Linked DNA regions of Homo sapiens: all the other regions are linked to region 3. The links are contacts of gene promoters, found by promoter capture Hi-C in blood cells and fetal thymus (Javierre and others, 2016). All regions are on one chromosome and are shown on one strand. Each heading gives the region's core, a stretch centred on a gene start or on the middle of the fragment in contact. The rest is flanking DNA. Distances are from core to core; before and after follow the strand shown.

The links. Contacts are between HindIII fragments. The CHiCAGO score rates a contact against its expected background, and 5 or more counts as called.
Region 1: the fragment with the promoter of SCGB1D4 here is called in contact with the fragment with the promoter of INCENP in region 3 in 5 of 17 cell types (M2 macrophages, M1 macrophages, megakaryocytes and 2 more); the score reaches 9.1 in M2 macrophages.
Region 2: a fragment that was not itself captured here is called in contact with the fragment with the promoter of INCENP in region 3 in 1 of 17 cell types (neutrophils); the score reaches 6.5 in neutrophils.
Region 4: a fragment that was not itself captured here is called in contact with the fragment with the promoter of INCENP in region 3 in 1 of 17 cell types (M2 macrophages); the score reaches 6.0 in M2 macrophages.

The regions. Positions count from the first base shown.
Region 1 is chr11:62,297,714-62,301,015 of GRCh38, reverse strand. SCGB1D4 (secretoglobin family 1D member 4) reads left to right here and starts at 1,941. Exons shown (of 3, transcript NM_206998.2): 1 at 1,941-2,060. The coding sequence starts at 2,006. The HindIII fragment of the contact is 1,500 bases long and covers 1,270-2,769 here.
Region 2 is chr11:61,899,363-61,902,605 of GRCh38, reverse strand. RAB3IL1 (RAB3A interacting protein like 1) reads left to right here. Exons shown (of 10, transcript NM_013401.4): 8 at 65-164; 9 at 3,226-3,243. Among named protein-coding and RNA genes, the nearest start is that of FADS3, 9.4 kb to the right of the region's middle. RefSeq lists enhancers at 3,018-3,087, 2,199-3,170, 3,138-3,187. The HindIII fragment of the contact is 1,020 bases long and covers 1,160-2,179 here.
Region 3 is chr11:62,122,366-62,125,571 of GRCh38, reverse strand. It overlaps INCENP (inner centromere protein), which reads right to left and starts at 1,561. Exons shown (of 19, transcript NM_001040694.2): 1 at 1,409-1,561. LOC124902681 (a long non-coding RNA gene) reads left to right here and starts at 1,861. Exons shown (of 2, transcript XR_007062697.1): 1 at 1,861-1,915. RefSeq lists enhancers at 690-1,271, 1,261-1,330, 1,861-1,950. The HindIII fragment of the contact is 13,511 bases long and covers 1-3,206 here.
Region 4 is chr11:62,322,210-62,325,752 of GRCh38, reverse strand. No RefSeq gene overlaps it. Among named protein-coding and RNA genes, the nearest start is that of ASRGL1, 13 kb to the left of the region's middle. RefSeq lists an enhancer at 69-570. The HindIII fragment of the contact is 2,302 bases long and covers 1,043-3,344 here.

The DNA.
Region 1 (3,302 bases), core at 692-3,191, 180 kb before region 3:
TGGACTGTACAGATGACAAGGTGAATGTCAAGCCTGAGTGAGGATAAACTCTCATCCACAAAAAGGGTGGATGCTTCACAGACCTGTCTACTGCAAAAGAGGCCTCAGTCCTGAAGCCCATATTCATGGGTTTGCAGCCTCCAAGACCATGAGCTGGGTTTCCTTTTCCATTTATGTCAAAGAGAAATGGTGTATCTAGGTGTCCGTGTAGTTCTGCAAGTAGGTGATTTAGTGGATTTTGGCTGTGCTCTAAACTAGGAACTACTGGCAAACCATGACATATATGACAAATGGGACAAGATAATGGCAGTTTACATTGAGAACTACTATGTACCAGAACTTGGTATATTTTAAACACACACACACCCATGAACACACTCATTTGATCATCTATCAACCCAATGATGTAGGCACCATTAGTAGCCTACTTTGACAAATGAGAAAACTGGGGTTACATAAACTGAATAATTTTCCTAAGGTCCAGGAGCCCATAAATGAGGATCTGAACCCTCATAGCTGTAAACCTCACCACCAACCCTCCCCCTCCTTGGTGGCAGCAGGGCTGATTCAGGGACTCCGTCGTCATCCTGTGTGATGAAAGTGAGATCCACTGTTGCCCTCAGCTTGGACTCAACTAAATCTGTCAATGTGTCTTTGATGACAAAACCCGTAAGGTCCCCTTCCTTCTTAAAGGTTTTCCTGGCTGGATCTCAGCCCTGCTGTCTGTGAGAAACACCAGAGCAGTTTAAACAGTACAGAAAGGAGGGATTCACCCCAATGCTACTGAATCAAAATCGCCAGAGAGAGAAGCCTGTGGGGTCAGTATGTTTTAAAAGCTCCAAGTGATTTGACTACATAGCTGAGAATGGAAAGCTATGGCCTGGGCTGTGACTCCTCTCAAATGTAAGTTTATTTAAGAGAAAAATTTCTGGTGATTAAACTCACACCACATGAAGGCACGGCAATGGGAGGGAAGGCGGGTGTGTATTGCTTTGTCTGGGGGCTTCCTTCACTTTCCCTTAAAAATGGGATTGGCCCAGGCAGCACAGATAGGTTTGAAGTGGAAAACTTGAGCCTAGGGGTTAGGGGGAAGTGACCACCCACCCTGTTCCTCTGTCTCTTCCCTTCTATTATCTTCCCAGCCTAGAGCCCCACTGATGTATGATTGGCTCTGAACACTCCAAAAGCTCTTGAGAAAAAGAGTTAGGTTATTTAATCTTCAGATCAGCCCTAAGATAAGACGTGGGTGGCTACACATCACAGAAAGCTTGCTTTTTATAGATAGAAAATGTGAATCTTGGCCATATATATAACTGCACGTATAAACAAGATTCAGGTTTGGGAGTGAGGCAGGCTAGAGAACAGGTGCAGCAGATGTTTTTCCTCAGCATATCTTCTACAGGTGGGATGTATTCAACTATGTTTTCAGTACCTATGCAGTGAACATGGTGGTGATGGAAGGGGCTGAGGGGAAGGATTAGACTTTCCCAATGTGCAACTGAAACAAGCCTGCTTGTTGTCAGACATGCAGGGGGATCAAAGCAGGGTCTCCTTATGTCCCTGCTCTCCCATAAAGAGAACACAGCCTTCCAGCTTCCTGTGCCTTGTGAAGCCATAATTCACCTGTGCCCCTGCACTGCTACAAAGATAAAAAGAACTAATCAGCAAAAGCTCATAAGGAAATTGAGGATCCCAGGAACATTTCCAGATGTACCTGAACACTCACCTGGAGCACAGAGCAGAGTTCTCACAAGGCTGCTGTCTTGTGCTCCGCCCCACTCAGATGCAGAGATTCCTAAGGAGGTGACATTGATGGACGGCAGCAGCCCTGGCTTGGAAGGGCGGGCTGGGAGCCAGGCCTCATGACCTACCAGGTGCCCCGGTAGGTAGGACCAGCCAGGCTCCCTAGGTACAAATAGCCCTGGCCTCCATGACTACACAGGCTCCTGGAGTCGAATCCAAATCACTCATTGTGAAAGCTGAGCTCACAGCCGAATAAGCCACCATGAGGCTGTCAGTGTGTCTCCTGATGGTCTCGCTGGCCCTTTGCTGCTACCAGGGTGAGTACATCAGTCATGAGTCCAGCACCAGCCCCTGGGATGCACCCTCTTCTGAGCACAAGATCACCTATTTGTGCTTTGGGTTGGGGTCTGCACAAAACCAAACAAAATTCCAAACCCTTTTCTGTGCTTGTTGAATAAGATTCATAAAGGTTAGAGCTATTTCTTCTTTCTTCTTCCTTTTTTTTTTTTTTTTTTTGAGAAGTTTTGCTCTTGTTGCCCAGGCTGGAGTGCAGTGGCATGATCTTGGCTCACTGCAACCTCTGCCTCCGGGGTTCAAGTGATTCTCCTGCCTCAGCCTTCCTGAGCAGCTGGGATTACAGGCATGGGCCACCACAGCTGGCTAATTTTGTATTTTTAGTAGAGATGGGGTTTCTCCATGTTGGTCAGGCTGGTCTCGAACTCCCGACCTCAGATGATCTGCCCGCCTCGGCCTCCTAAAGTGCTGGGATAACAGGCATGAGCTACTGCGCCTGGCTGCTTAGAGCTATTTCTTCTAATCCCCAGTATCTAAGAAGTTTTATAGAAAAATCAGTTCAGGCAAATGTTAGGAATTCTTCTGCCTGAGCTTCACTTCTGAATGGGATCTGTGTCAGATGATGTAATGTGAGGTCTGGGGTGAACCTGGGCTTCGACACTTCCCACCCCTTGATCTTGGGCACAATGCTCACCCTCCTTGAGCCTCCTCTTATCACTGGTGGTTAAAGCTTCTGCCAGGAGTGGCTATGAGAATGAAGTAAGGTTATGGTTGTCAAGAGTCAAGCTGTGGGCCAGGCATGGTGTCTCATTCCTGTAATCTTAGCACTTTGGGAGGCCACAGTGGGCAGATCACTTGAGCTCAGGAGTTCAGCACCAGCCTGGGCAACATGGCGAAACCCCATCTCTACAAAAAAAAAAAACAAAACAAAACACACACACACACACACACACACACACACACACACAAAAGCGGGCATGGTGGCAGGCACTGGTAGTCTCAGCTACTTTGGGGGCTGAGGGAGGATCGCTTGAGCCCAAGACATTCAGGCTGCAGTGAGCCGAGATTGTGCCACTGCATTCCAGTCTGGGTGAACCTATCTCAAAAAAAAGAAAAAGAAGTCTAGCTGAGGATATGAAGCTCTTCCCTTTGTTGTGTGACCCGGAGAAAGTCACACCTGGAGTTTCTGGTATTGTCATCAGCACAATAATGGTATAGAAACATAGAACCCAGGGGATCCTGTCTGGTGTAACCTCAGGGAGCCA
Region 2 (3,243 bases), core at 420-2,919, 220 kb after region 3:
TGCAGGGGTGAGGGAGAGGGGCAAGCCCCAGCCAGCCCCCGTGACCCATTTTGCTTTCCCCTAGCACATGTGCCCTGAGCGGGCTGACCCGCACCTGCCGCCACCGAATCCGGCTCGGGGACTCCAAAAGCCATTACTACATCTCGCCATCTTCCCGGGCCAGGGTGAGTCAGCCTTTGCAAGCGTTACTTGACTCCTTTGGGGCCACCTGGGTGCTGGGACACTGGGCCCTGGGCCTGGGAGTATGAATAGCACTACACCTTGATTTACTTATTTTATTTATTTATTTTTTGAGACAGAGTCTTTGTCACCCAGGCTGGAGTGCAGTGGCACAATCTCAGTTCACTGCAATGTCTGCCTCCCAGGCAGACATTAGCAATTCTCCTGCCTCAGCTTCCCAAGTAGCTGGGATTACAGGCATGTGCCACCACGCCCAGCTAATTTTGTATTTTTAGTAGAGATGGGGTTTCACCACGTTGGCCAGGCTGAACTCGAACTCCTGGCCTTAAGTGATCTGCCTGCCTCGGCCTCCCAAAGTGCTGGGATTATAGGTGTGAGCCACCACGCCCAGCCTTACATCTTGATTTACAGAGCAGGGTACAGGCTCAGAGAGGCGCAGAGACTGACTCGGGCCACACAGCCAAGCCAAGGGCAGTGGTTTGCTATTACGGTGTAACAAATTACTATCAACCTGGTAGCTTAAAATAGCGCAGTTCCCCATGTTGGAGTCTAAGCACTACTTACTTACTGGATTCTCTGCTCAGGGACTTGCAAGGTCGCAGTAAGCTGTCAGCAGACTGTGTTCCTTTCTGGAAGTCAGGGTCCTCCTCAAAACTCACATTGTTGGCAGCATTCAGTTCCTTGTGTTTGAAGGACTGAGGCCCCTATTTTCTTGCTGGCTGCTGGCAAGGGGACACCCTCAGCTTCTAGAGGACACCCGCAGTCCCCTGCCACAGGGCCTTGTTGCACAGGGCAGCTGACTTCAGAGCCATCAGGAGGGCCACTCTCCAGTCGGCTGAGATGCAGCCTTATGTATGAAATGTCATGGGATGACATCGCCCCCCTCTGTCATTCAATGTCACCTAATCCAGGAGTGATGCTAGAGTTCCAGTTAGAGTGCGGGGCTCCTGACGCCCAGACTCAGGTGCTGGCCGAAGCTTTGGAAAAGGTTCAGCGGTGCGTCTGGTGCACCAGCCTTAAGTCGGCCGTGAGTGCCAAGGGGCCTCTAGGAATCCCAGCTCCCACCCTCCCCTGCCGAGTGACCCAGACCAGGACAGGGGTTCTCACCAAGCTGGGGATTGAGGACAGGGATTCCTCTTCCTCTGTCCCTCTGTTGACTCTTAAGAGGATTGAGGGGAACAAGAGAACATGTTTGGAAACACGTTTCCAGTGACACAGCTTGAGGAACCATCTCAGGCCTGCTAGAGGCTCCTCGCAGGGGAGCAGGTCTAAAGGGGACAAATGGTCCCTTTGCTGGCAGCAGACTATACTGTCCTTGATGAACTCCACAAGGCATCCGAGCGTGAGTCCTCCCAGCGGTGTGCTGAGCACCCATTTACCAAAAGGGAGGCTGAGCCTTGGCAGAGGAAAGGGGTGTGTTCAGGGCCACACACCGAGACCTGGGATCCTGGCTCTGAGTCCACTGCAGCCCCTACCCTGTGGATTTGTGCCCACTGAGCCTTGTTCAGTGGCCACTTATCTCCATCACCGCTTTCCAGGCCCAACCATGGCTCAACAGCAGGCCCCACAAAAGATGTTCCCGTGCTCAACAATGTCACCTCTAGCACTTTAAGTCCCTGGCCTGGGTGTCCTGCTGCACTGGATGAAGCTGGGGGTGGGAGATGAGGTGAGGAGGGTCTGAAGTTTTAGGATGTGGTCCCTGCCCTGAAAGACCAAGACATGTGGGGTCCACAGGGAGAAGTGTTTTCTCCCTAGCACACTCCCTGGAGAGGGAAAGCCCCCTCCCTGCTACTCCCTGCTCATGAGCCTCTGTGGGCATCCACTGTCCCTGCTCCTGTCCTGAGCTCTGCCCTGCCCCACCCTCCTGCCGCAGCCTCTCCTCAACCCTCCCTGTGCAGCGGTGTCCCTGCCACGACGGGCTGGTCCCCCGACCTCGCCCCGCTCTCTCGCACCTCCCTATCTTTGCCAGGCCACCACCGTCCCGCCCCTCCCCGAAGCTTCTCCACTCCCCAGCCTGCGGGTGCCCCTCTCACTTGATGTCCCTCCCCAGGAGTGTTGGACATTCAGTAGGGGCTGTTGCGGGCGGGCACAGCCGCCGGCTACCTTCCACCCTGTCTTAGGCTGGGTTCCGAAGAGGCAGAGCCTCACCTGGAGATTGTGTGCAGCTCCCAGGAGAATGAGGGAAGGGACGGGGGAGTCCAGCCAGGATGTGGCCTTAGCTACAGCCCAGCTTCAGCCCCATCCACCGGGCTCTTAGCAGAGTTGATTCCACCCTGAGGCAAGGGGACTGTCCTTTCTATCTCCACACAAGTCAGTCATCGGCTGAGGTCTACAGGAGGAGTGAGTACAGAGGGGGGCACCTCTGAGCCATTAGTGCCCCCACTCTCAGCAGCTGGGAGATGGGGCCCGGGCCTGGGAAGGGGCCCTGGGCCAGGCACCAACAGTACCCTCTCCGTGGTGTGAGTCCTCATAGCAGTGTCTGAGCCAACACAGGGTCCCCGGGGCCTGGCATGGAGCAGGCCTGAGGCCCCAGGGGCCCCGGGCAGCCCAGGTGAGCGGCTTCTGACCCCCTTTCCTTTCCCAGTGTTATCAGTAGCACTGGACTGAGGCCTGGCTGGCCCAAAACTCCAGCATCTGGAGCAAGCCGGCCTGTGAGAGGGCGAGTGTAGACTCCGGGACAGCCTGCCCGGTTCATCTCACAGCTCTGCTGCATGCTGGTTCATTAGCTCCGCCATCTCCGTGATGGATGTCAGCGGCTTTCCCCGGGTGGCTCCGCTTTCCCCCATGTAAGATGGAATAATAAGCGCGTCTGCTCCGTTCGCTGCAGGCGCTTGATGAAATGGCTGCTGCTGCTGCTGCTGCTATTACAGCAGGGCTAGTCATGCTGTTGTTGATTACTACTTGAAAGCCCAGTCCCAGCTGAGTCAGGGAGCACTGCCTGGCTCTGCAGGGACCTGGGGCCTCCTGCTCTGGACTCAGATCCGCCTGTCAGGGGACCCCCAGCGTGGGGCTGGCAGGTCACACCGTCCCCACCTCTGCCCACAGATCACCGCAGTGTGCAAC
Region 3 (3,206 bases), core at 312-2,811:
GGGCAGGATCGTACAGGCTTTGGGCTGAAACCTCGGCTCTGCAGCCAGCCAATCATGGGCAAGCCCTTTTCACTGTCATCCCTCACCTTCCCCTAACCCTTCTGCACCCAGACCACAGCCCTGGCAAAGCGCAGGACCTCAGGCCAGAAAAGAGAAAACTGTTTAAGGAAGCCAAAGGTTTGCAGAGAAAAGCAACAACTGGCTAACTTTTTAAAAAGTATTTGTTCAAATGGGCAACGTGGATGAGAGCTTCTTTCACAAAGTCCATGAAAGCAATTGGACTTCTTTCACGGGGAGGTTTGCTTCTAGCAGACCTTAGCGCAACGATTTAAAAAGGGTTACCGTAAGTTAAAACAGAGGTGACCCTGAAAAAGAAGGAATCAGTGTACCAAGAATCAGGCTCCTGGAAGAGCAGCAAAAATCTCTTCTTCAACCCATGTAAGCACCTGCACACAGATAAAGAGCACTCAACACCTCACCGAGGAAGACACTCTCCAGTCTTCCTCCTCTCCAACACTTCTTCCACACCATACACCAGACTGAAGGCCCCATCGTCCTCCTCTATGACTCCTGTCCTTTTCAGGGTGCTGTAAGTTGGGCGCCTACCACACCTCTGTGCAGAAAGCGCATAGCAGCTGCTCCCATTTACTGAGTCATACTCCATGCCCGAGTCAGACATCATCTCATTTAATTCTCACCACAACCTTGAGGATACGCATGGGCAGATGAGGAAATTGAGGCAAAGAGAAGTCAAAATCAGCCGGTAAATCAGGGGCATAAATAGAACCGTGCCCTTAACCACGGGCTATACCGCCTTTAAACCGTGCCCTTAACCACTGGCTATACCGCCTTCTAGATATCAACTTCTGAAAGGCAGGTGCCCAGTCTTGGCTCTGGGCAACCCCGCGAGCAACCCATGTTAGCTGAATGAGACTGAACCGCTGACAGCGAACAGGCTTGGGGAGTGACAAGGGGCGGCCCAGCCTCCGGAAATGGTCAGTTTAAAATGCTGCTCAGCTGGGGGCGGGGGCGTTGAGAGAGGGGTTTAACTGCACAGAAATGCCATCTGGCATCATTCCGCCAAACAACCGGGTTGGTTTCGGGCTTCCTGCGCGTCCAAGTCAACACTAATCCTCACAGGCACAAGGTGCCAAGCAGCCGGGAGCGGAGGGAACGGGGCTATGCTCTAGGAAGCTGAGGGCCTAGGTGGAAAGGGTGGGAGGCATCTCGGGCCCGAGAACCAAGGCAGGCGACCTCGCCACTTGGAAGAGGTGACCCTCATATGCCCAGGTAGCCAGGGGCTGGGGTGGGGAGTCACGACCCTGGTCCGGAGTCGACAGGGACGGAGCAGAGGACCGGGGAAAAAATCGCGAACCACCCCCCAATCCCCACGCCCACGCGCACTCACTCGACTGCGCCACGTCCCCTGAAGGCTGCTCCGATCCAAGTCCGGTGGTATCCCTAGGTAAGGCCCCGCTTGCCCAGACCCACTTGGCTCCGGGCCTTCGGGACTCACCGCACGGGAGGAGCAACCAGGCGGCGCAGCGCGGGCGAAAACTATGATTTTCAAAACTGAAGGCTCAGCCAATCCTCGGCAAGTTTGTCCGGGCGGTTGCAAAATTTTAAGCCAATCAAATAACAGGAAGTACCAGTCAGCCCTCCTATTGGCCATATCCACTAGCAATCTGCGGGACTAAGAGGCGGGGAAAGGAAGCGAAAGACTTTAAGCCCCCTCAGCTTCCGGGTGCTGCGGCCGCGGCCGAGAGAGGAAGTAGATCCCCGCCTGGGAGGAGCCCGCAGACCTGGAACTACGAGTCCCGGCGAGCACTGCGAAGGCCACGCGCGGCTTTCTTTCTTCTCCAAGCACGGTGGCAGTCTTCTGATCTCTGCTGCTTTTTTTTCCTCATAAAAACATGTATGTATATACTTACATTGCTGAAAGACCAGCTTTTTAATGTAACAAATTATCTAGGTACAGAAGTCATAGGTTCCTCTTCCCATGAGAAAAACATTCCTCAAAATACAAACCAAACAGCATCCCAGAGGGAGTAAAATTTCATTGTACTGAAACATATACAAATTAAGGCTACCTTGGTATATAAACAATTTAGAAATTATGATGGAATAGTTCCACCAAATCATTTACGTATAGGAATTCATGCCATTTTTTAAAGAATTGGTAGTGGGGCTCAATTCAAACAATATTATGCATCCTTACATTCAACTTAATACACTTAGCAGCTATAAGGAGTGTAACTGTAACCCCACTTCCTGAAATCTCAGGAGTAATGTTAAAAATCCAAACCCATCAAAGGCCAGGGTGTTACGGTATTTGGCTCATGAATCGAAAAGCCTAATCATTTCAATTTAATCTTTACAAGTAGAACAAGATCCAAACATGGGACGTTTTCTTATTTTTCTTTGCTTTTGTGGTTGTAATGCCCTTTTGGTTTTCTGAGCAAGCTGAATACATCTGATAAATACTACCATTGGACAAAGGATCTAAACATTGAGATGTTTTACTAAATCAAGGTTTCAAGTTGGCACAATGTTTTTACTAAGTCATATTTCAATTAGTTCATCTTTCCAATATGGAGGCGGGGGGGGAAAGACAAGGACTAATATGTCCTATAAAGAATCTCTGGCCGGCGAGATCCCGCCACTGCACTCCAGCCTGGGCGACAGAGCGAGACTCCGTCTCAAAAAAAAAAAAAAAAAAAAAAAAGAATCTCTGGCCGGGCGCGGTGGCTCACGCCTGCAATCCTAGCACTTTGGGAGGCCGAGGCGGGTGGATTGCCTGAGCTCAGGAGTTCGAGACCAGCCTGGGCAACACAGTGGAACCCTGTCTCTACTAAAATACAAAAAAAAATTAGCCGGGCGTGGTGGCTTGCACCTGTAATCCCAGCGACTCGGGAGGCTGAGACAGGAGAATCGCTTGAACCCGGGAGGCAGAGGTTGCAGTGGGCCGAGATCGCGCCATTGCACTCCAGCCTGGGCCACAAAAAGCAAAAAACTCCGTCTCAAAAAAAAAATCTCTGCCGCTTTTGAGAAGTAAAAACAAAACGCCTTGTGAATGGCAACGGAGTGTGCGTTTATCTAGAGCCTTCTGTCATCTCTTGGGCGACAGAATCCTTGGTCACCTACCCTGGTACTGGACGTTTCTTGAGAGAAGTGGTTCTCATGCAGAGGAGGTTTTATCCCACCTC
Region 4 (3,543 bases), core at 944-3,443, 200 kb before region 3:
GAGTTTGGTGCCCCCAAAACTCCAGGTCAAAGGGCAGTGAAGAGTCATACCAAGTGTGAAGTGAGAGGGCCAGGGATGGAATTCTGTCCTTCCTTCTCCAAGCCTCGTGCTCTCCCTGTCCCTAAATGATTTGACATCCTCTGCAGTTTCATATTGTAACTCACAATTTTTTTTGGAAAGAACTAAGATGTAAGTAATAAATCAGTTCCTGTTTGTTCTAGTAATTTATTACCAACCCTATACTATGGATTTGTAAATACTTATATCTTTTTATCTATCTACTCTCTATAACTGTTTCCTCATCCTAGACTGCAGGTTCTCCTTGGCAGAGATTGTGTCTGAAGCCCATAAGACACAATCCTCTTGGGCACAGGAGTTTTGCCAAGCAGCTTCTCAATAGCTTGTGCTGTGGCTAACCCTGATGATGAAAAGGCAATATGGTGATAGCAAGATTTGAATCTCTGTTCTTTTCTGATGGGATAAACGAAACAGCCAAAGAGACTTCTTTTAGAGCACCATCATTTCTTAGCGTCTTCACCAGGGGTCGGTGAGATGAAGCAGCCACCCTCCAAGGCGGCCTCAGCCATCCTGACACCTCCAATGCGGAGGTGTGGGGTGCAGATACAGCGCTCTGGCCCCAAGGAGGCGCTGTTTCCCCAGGGATCGGCTGGCGGAGGCTTTGCAATGATGAAGTTGGCCTGTGGTGGGAGCCTCCTCCGTCTGTGGCCACCCTTCTTTGATACAAATAGTGTGCGCCTTGCGTAATGTCCTGGGTGACCTGTAATTTCCTCTTCTCACTCAGTAGTATATCTTGGACACCATTCTGTCTCAGCGCTATCGGTGGTTGTTTAGATTGTTTGCGATCTTAGCAAATGTAAACATATTTGTGATGGTCATGACGGTACCCACATTGCCCGGAGCCAGGGCTGTTTATAGAAATCACTCTTCATCTAGCCATAGGAGGCAGTCCTCACCTTCTCAGAAGGAGAACTGACTTACCTGGCTCTGGAAGTGGGCAGCGGGCTAGAGGGCACGTAAAGCTTTGCCTCTTCTTGGCTCTCCCAGCGGCTGGCCTGCCTTCAGGGTTAAGTCTTTTCCTCCTGCGACCTCTGGGGTATAATCTGCTGCAATTGTTAGAGCACTGCTGAAGGTAGGTAAGAGAGTTATTCTCATTTTCCACGTGCATGCATCCTCTGCTCTGCCCTCTGCACGTTTTTGTTTGTTTGTTTTGTTTTTTGTTTTTTTGACGGAGTTTCACTCTTGTCGCTCAGGCTGGAGTGCAATGGCGTGATCTCGGCTCACTGCAACCTTCGCCTCCTGGGTTCAAGTGATTCTCCTGCCTCAGCCTCCCGAGTAGCTGGGATTACAGGCGCCCGCCACCACGCCCAGATATTTTTTGTATTTTTAGTAAAGACAGGGTTTCACCAGGTTGGCCAGGCTGGTCTCGAACTCCTGACCTTGTGATCCACCCGCCTCGGCCTCCCAAAGTGCTGGGATTACAGGCGTGAGCCACCGCGCCCGGCCCTGGATTTTATATTTTTAAATGGTTAAAAAAATCAAAAGAAGAACAGTACTTTCTGACACATGGAAATTATGTGAAATCAAATTTCAGGGTTCAGAAATAAAGTCTTCTTGGGAAACAAACATATTTATATGAAAGGAAATCCAGGATGGAAATGGCTATGTCAGAGGCATCTAAAAAGTTGGTGGGTGGGTAGGAAGAGTTGGACCCAGGCCTATACACACCCAGACAGAATGTCACCTGTGGAACTGGGCCAAACTGTAAACATCCTGAAGAAGCAGGTACATTTAGTTTAACCTATTTATATTGGGCCTGATCACAAATCTCCTGGGGAGAGAGCTGTGCCAACATAAGCTGATCATCAGCTAGAGACATTCTAAGCTGTCAATCAATCACCATTAATCATAGACCATGCTAAGTTGTCCCACTTGTGTAAATTTACAGTAAACCTCTAAAACTCCTGCTCAACCTCACTTGGAGGGAACATGATTTAGCTGCTTGCTAGATTTGTGTCTCCCGCATTGCAATTCCTCTCTTGTTTGCTGCCCTGCAGGGTTTTTTTTTTTTTTTTGGTCGGGGGAGACGGAGTCTCGCTTTGTCCTCAGGCTGGAGTGCAGTGGCATGATCTAGGCTCACTGCAATCTCTGCCTCCTGGGTTCAAGTGATTTCCCTGCCTTAGCCTCTTGAGTAGCTGGGACTACAGGCGTGCACCACCATGCCCAGCTAATTTTTTGTATTTTAGTAGAGACAGGGTTTCACCATGTTGGCCAGGATGGTCTCGATCTCCTGACCTCATGATCCACCAGCCTCAGCCTCCCAAATTGTTGGGATTACAGGCATGAGCCACCATGTCCAGCCCTTATTTCTCATTAGTTGACACTCATTTGTTTGTTACATATTGTCTCTGGCTGCTTTCACCCTAGAGTGGCAGGGTTGAGTAGCTGGAACAGACGATGGTGGCCTACAAAGCCTCACATATTTTCTTCCTGGCCCATTGCAGAAAGTTTGTTGATCCTGAGTTAGGCGATTGACACTTTTCTTTCTTCTACACTTATTAGCCTTTCCAGAAGTATGTGTAATGAGAGGAGGATTCTCTCCTTTGCATGTTGGTCTAGCTAGTTGATTAGCTATTTGATCTAGCTAATGGTGTAGCTAATTAGAGATGGCAGGTAGTTAGCAAACATTTTACTTAGATTATCATTTAGACCTCCATTACTGTAGAGCTGTGTAGAGCAGTGTATTAGTTGGGGTTCTCTAGAGAGACAGAACCAATAGGAGATTATATATAACTATATGTTTGTATAAATATATAGGGGGATTTGTTAGGGGAATTGGCTTATGTGAGGATGGAGGCTGAGAAGTCCCATGGCAGGCCAGCTGCAAGCTGGAGAACCAGGGAAGCCTGAAGCGTGTCTCAGTCCAAGCCCAAAGGCCTGAGAACCAGACAAGTTGATATTGTGAAATGGAAGTCTGAGGCTGAAGGCCTGAGAAACTGGGAGGCAGCTGATGTATGTTCCAGAGTCCAAAGGCCAGAGAACCTGAAGTTCCTATTGCCTAGGGCAGGAGAAGAAGGGTGTCCCAGCTCCAGCAGAGAGACAGCAAGAGCAAATTCACCCTTTGTCTGCCTTTCTGTTCTACGTGGGCCCTCAGCTGATTGGGCCCACACTGGGTGAGGGTGGATCTTCCCAGTGATTCAAATGCCAACCTCTTCTGAATACACCCTCACAGACACACCCACAGATAGTGGTTTACCAGCTATCTGGGTATCCCTTAATCCAGTCAAGCTGACACCTGAAATTAACCTTCACAAGCAGGGAAAGCTTAAAATGAAGCCTGAGTGTTCCATTCCTGTGCATCTTAGGGTCAAGGGCCCGTGCTGAAATTCCTGTGCCGAGTGTCTGCCTGGGGTGACCCTGGCAGCCTCACTTGCTTCTTCTGAGCTGGACTAACATTGTTATCCTCCCTATGCTCAAATAAATCTAGACCATTCTCTTCCAGGAGCCACTCTAGAATATGTTCCT